Linked DNA regions of Homo sapiens: region 1 is linked to region 2. Evidence: promoter capture Hi-C in 16 types of primary human blood cells and fetal thymus (Javierre and others, 2016). All regions are on one chromosome and are shown on one strand. The core of a region is centred on a gene start or on the middle of the fragment in contact, and the rest is flanking DNA. Distances in the headings are between cores, read along the strand shown.

Region 1 (2,700 bases), core at 162-2,661, 1.2 Mb after region 2:
GGTTTTCCAGGGAATTACAAACAGTAACATATTTTAGCAAGTTGGCTGGGATCAAAATTTGTACCCTGTAGTCATTAGCTTAGGACTTAGCCAAGAACAAACAATAACAATAATAAACCAAAACCAAAACCAACCAACCAACCAACCAAACAAATAAACCAAAACCCCCCAGAACAACAAGAAACCCACATACCATGTTATTGTATAACACTTGATATCATTAACAGGTCGATTTTCTATAGGTTAAATATTTCAATATAATATTTTTGGATGTAGGGAGTTAATGCCAAGGCTCTTATGGGAAGATACATAAGCAAGCAGAGGCAGGAAAGTTCTAGAAAAAAGGAATAATAGGGGAAGGGGACTATCTGTGCCAGATATTAGTCACATATTAAGCTATAATAATAAACAATGAGTTTCTGATGTGGAGCGAAAGCTCAATGGAACAGTCTATAAAGTTCAAGAACATTCAAATACATATTAGAATTTAGTATACGTGCTAAAAGTATGACAAAAGTGCAAAAAGACTAAAAGAAAATAAATACAGTTCATCCTCGGTATCTGGGGAATTGGGTCCAGGACCCCCACAGATACCAAAATCTTCAGATGTTAAAGTCCCTGATATAAAATGGTATAGTGTGTACATATAACTGTATACTTTAAATCATCTCTGGGTTACTTATGATAGCTAATACAATGTAAATGCTATGTAAATAGTGGTTATACTGTATAGTTTTTTTATTTGTATTTTTTTTATTGCTGCGTTGTTATTTTTAATTGTTTCTTTTCCAAATATTTTCCATCTGTAGTTGGTTGAATCTGCAGATGTGGACCCATAGTGGGATGACTGTATGTAAAAGAAAAAACCTTCCACATGGCGGAAAACAAACAAAACAGCAAAATACCCCAAATACCTGAGTCAAAGGGGAAAGAAATGCTTCAACTTGGACTGCACAGGGTTCTAATGCTCTTGATGTATAGAGTTCTTACAAATTAGTAAGGAAAGAACCCAGTAGAAACATGGGCAAAGAGGGTGAAGTGAGAGTTGAAAGACAAGCAGAATCAATGCCTCTAAAGCCTAGCAAAAGATGCTCAACCTCATAATATAAGAAATACAACTCAGCCAGGCGCGGTGGCTCACACCTGTAATCCCAGCACTTTGGGAGGCCCACGCAGGTGGATCATGAAGTTAGGAGATCGAGACCATCCTGGCTAACACAGTGAAACCCGGTCTGTACTAAAAACACAAAAAAATTAGACAGGTGTGGTGGCATGCACCCGTAGTCCCAGCTACTCGGGAGGGTGAGGCAGGAGAATCGCTTGAACACCAGGGAGGCAGAGGTTGCAGTGAGCGGAGATCGTGCCACTGCACCCCAGCCTGGGTGACAGAGTGAGACTCCATCTCAAAAAAAAGAAAAAAAAAAAAAAGAAATACAACTCAAAACTTCAATGAGATTTTTTTCATTTATCAGATTAACAAAGATTAAACAGGTGATAAAATATCATAGGCATAAGGAGAGACAGTCACATTCACACATGGTCAACTTAAGTGAGAACTGGCATCAATATCTGTGCAGGACAATTGGACAATTCCTACCCATAATAAAAATGCACATGCCCTTTGACCTAGCAATCCCACTTTAGGACTATATCTTGCAGATATAATTTCACAAGAATGTGCAACATTGCTCATAATAGGAGAAGTCTGAGAACAACTTAAATGCCCATCAGTGGGTGGCAGGTTAAACAGATTATGGTAAATCCACATGGGGATACTACACAGCCATGAAAAAGAACAAGACTGTTCTAAATGTACTGATATAGACAGGACTCCAAGACATGGTGCTAAGTGAAAAGATAGTAATATTGTAATAATATTGGTAATAAGTGAAAAGTGAATAATAAGTAATAAGTGATAGTAATAAGTGAAAAGAAAGTAATATTGTGCTATCACATGCAAAAAAATAGAAGCGATGTACATGCCTATACTATATATGCATAAAATTTCTTTAAAAAGCTGTCTGGGGTTTGGTGAACACATAACAGTCTCTAACACAAATTGTATAAAGCTGAAGCAAGGCGCTGGTTACAGATAATGATCTGAATATTTCAAAGGGGGAGTTTTAAAAGAACCGAAACCAGATGAAACTGATTATCTCTCATAATACCCAGATAGAAAGACTGGCCCAGGATCTTCAAGGAAGTTTGTTGCAATCAGGGCCCAGTAATTTCATTATCAGAGTGTCGCTGATTGCTGATCCCAGGAGGCCACCTGGGATGGCGTGATTACCCTGCAGGGGCTGATGAGGTTCCACCAAGAATGCAGCAGGTGCCCAGGCTTCCTGCTCTGGGGACTAATGCTTAATTGGTAGCTGGTTGGTTCAGGAGGTGGCGGGTTGGTTCCCAAGAAGCTGATGTCAAGGGTTTTATTCGTATGGGCTCTGCGTGGGTTCACATGGGCCCTTGGTCACATGGGATTCTGGGCAGGGGAGCTGTTTGGGGTGGATGGTTAGAACAGATCTTGGTGCTGTTACCTTCTCTGTGCCTCGATTTCCATCCCAGCTCTGCAGTCATCCACTTACTCAAGGAGGGTCAGTATTAGGTCTGTCTCCCTGCTCATTCTGCCTGCATGCAGTAAGCCAATCACTGTGACAATGGGCTTTGCAAAGAAGAAAGGGTTGATCCATGAGGCTACGAAGC
Region 2 (2,700 bases), core at 170-2,669:
AACATGCTGATTCCTTGCGAATTCGGTTACTAAATCAAAGTCTGGGGAGGGGGCGGGGAGACCGATGGAAGATAAAGGCAGATCAAATCTAAGAGTCCACATCTTGTAAAACTATGGATTCACAGACATCGTCCTTTTGCAAACCCGGCAAGCCTGCCTTACCAATCTGGGGGTGTGTGCCCTTTTCACACCCATCACAGACTCCACCTGTGGACCAGGCACTGCCCCAGCCCAGCCCAAGTCTGCACCCCCTTATCCAGGAGAGGCAGGCGGCTTCTTTCGAGGGCAGCACACCCGGCTCTCCGACCATCAGCTGCATCCACCGCCGAGATAACTACGGAAGCCCAACGGCCAAGGCCGCACTCACCTTGCCGCAGCCCGGCGGCCCCCACAGGATAAGCGAGGGGATTTCGTTGGTCTCCAGGAGCGAGCGCAGCAGGGTATCCTGGCCCACGGCCTTGCTCTGCCCGAAGTAATCCTGCAGCGTGTCAGGACGCATCGTGTCGGCCAGCGGCTTGCCCTGTAGCATCTGTCGGATCTCCTCGGCAGCCAGCGCCCGGGGGTGCGGGCGGCCCCCGCCACTGGCCCCGAAGGCGGTGGCGGCTTCGGCAGCGTCCGCGTCCCAGTGCCCCGGGTCGTCCTCGCCGTCCGCGTCCGCGTCCCCGTCGCCATCGCCGTCGCCCACGGCCTCCTCCTCCTCCTGCGCCTCCGCCTCGTCCCAGCTGCGCGGAGACGCGCTCCCCGCCGCGGCGGCGGCCGCCGGCCTCTTCCCCGACCCCTTCCTCCCGGGGCTGCTGGAGCGGGCCACCGGGAAGTCGGGGATAAGGCGGGCGCCGCTGGGTGTGGGCGGCGCGTCGTAGCTCTCGCGGCTCTCGGTCTCGCCGCCGTCGTCGCCCTCCTCACCCTCGCCCTCGCTGCTCTCGGCTGCCGTCGGGGTGGCTGGCTGCTTCAGCGCCGAGCTCTCCGACAGCCGCCGCCTCTTGGCGCCGGGCGGCGAGGGCCCCTTGGCCCGCTCCCCGGCGCGGTGCGACCCGGCCGCGGGCTCCGCGTGCCCCGCCGGGTGGAGCAGCAGACAGCGGTCCAGGTGCGAGTTGATGTGCGCGGCGGGCATCATCTGCTGGCACACGGGGCACTGCACCTGGTGCAGCTGCGAAAGGAAGGGGTCGTCTTCCGGCCCGCTCACCTCCATGGCGGCCGCCGCCCTCCCCGGCGCCCGGCGCGGCCGCAGCAACCCGTGCGCACGCGGAGGCCTTCGATGCCCTCCGCTAGGCCCCGCGCCGCGAGACCCTCGCTCGGGGAACCAGCAGGACGCTCGCGGGCCGGAGGAGGGCGCCGCTCATGCCTCACGTCCGCAGCTCCCGCGTCCGCCCGCCCTCGGCCGGCCGCTGGCAGCGCCTCACGCGGCGTGTCGGGAAGTGTAGTTCGTGGCCGTTTGCCCCGGCGGCGGAGGCGCCTCGCGCGGCATGTAAGTAAGTGTAGTCCGTGGCCGTTTGCCCCAATCACCGCCGAGAATACCTCGCGCGGCACTTCGGGAAGTGTAGTCCGCGGCCATTCGCCCCAGCTGCCGTGCGTCCATTTCCGACTCTGAGAACAGCCTTTGCGGGGGCGGGGGAGGGGCGGGGGGGGGGGTTGCGAGGCGAGCGTGGTGCGCGTGCGCGAGGTTGCGCGGTGGCGGACGCAGCCCTCCGCCCAGGCCTGCGAGTCGCGCGAGGGCAGGGAGGAGCCACGGACTGCGCGAGGTTGTTGGAGCGGCGAGCGCCGCTTTCCCGGCCTTCCGTGCTGGGCTGTTGAATGGGCCTGTGGGGACAAGCAGGAGGCGGCCGCAGCGGGTCGTTTGTAACGAAAGGGAAATGGGGGAAAAAACCCAAAAGCCTCCAATAGAAAACCAGTGTTCTATTGGACGTGAACAGCAGAAAAAATACAAACAAGTACGCGAGTGAAAGAAATGCTCACCTCAGTAGTGGTCAGGGAAATGAAAATAAAGCGTCCCTCGCCCCCTTTTAGATGTGTTGGCGTTTAAGTCAAGGGCGGTTCACCTACAGCGCGCTTCGAGCCAAGAGATGCTTCTCGCGGGCCGCTGTGTAATAGTGGCAAATCGGAAACACCAGCCTTCTGTCTCCTTAGCAACCAAATGATGGGAGGCGCCCGTGTGCAATTACGTCCTAGACGGATAGAAATGGAAAGAATATCAGATTAAAACAAGTGTGGTAGTCTGCATCTTTGAATGAATTACCATGTTATTTTTTGCTTTTGTCTAAGTCTCCCGTTTTAAAACATGTATCTCAAAACAGGCATTTTTGGTAACTAGAAGAGGTAAATGAATTGAGGGAGAATGAAGACTTTTCCGAAATTTGGCCAAAACTTGAATTTTTATTTCATCTGGGCAAGAGCACATTGAGGGTCTCACTCGTTCTGTCGCCCAGGCTGGAGTGCAGGGCCGCGACCAGAGCTCACAGCCTTGAACTCCTGGGCGCCCGGGACCCTTCCGCCTTAGCCTTTGGAGTCGTCCTGGGGTTACAGGCTGAGCCACCACGCCTGGCTGGCTGGTTAAGAGTTGTTTCTAACTAAAAAAGTTAGGCTCAAAAATAAGATTAATAGAAACGCTAGAGAAACAAGTTAAACTTTAATCATCATGTAACGTGAAACTACCAAAAGAGGATCGTGAGCTTTCATTATTTTTTTGAGACGCAGTTTCACTCT

What was found. Contacts are between HindIII fragments. The CHiCAGO score rates a contact against its expected background, and 5 or more counts as called.
Region 1: a contact is called between a fragment that was not itself captured here and the fragment with the promoter of WRNIP1 in region 2, in 1 of 17 cell types (total CD4 T cells). The highest score is 6.6, in total CD4 T cells.

The regions. Positions count from the first base shown.
Region 1 is chr6:1,530,132-1,532,831 of GRCh38, reverse strand. The region is part of intron 2 of LOC102723944 (a long non-coding RNA gene); the gene reads left to right. Among named protein-coding and RNA genes, the nearest start is that of FOXCUT, 74 kb to the left of the region's middle. The HindIII fragment of the contact is 2,893 bases long and covers 1-2,700 here.
Region 2 is chr6:2,764,112-2,766,811 of GRCh38, reverse strand. It overlaps WRNIP1 (WRN helicase interacting protein 1), which reads right to left and starts at 1,419. Exons shown (of 7, transcript NM_020135.3): 1 at 368-1,419. The coding sequence starts at 1,189. It also overlaps a transcript of MYLK4 not described here. RefSeq lists silencers at 499-818, 989-1,448, 1,609-1,658, 2,039-2,128 and enhancers at 1,583-1,877, 1,975-2,700. The HindIII fragment of the contact is 13,290 bases long and covers 1-2,700 here.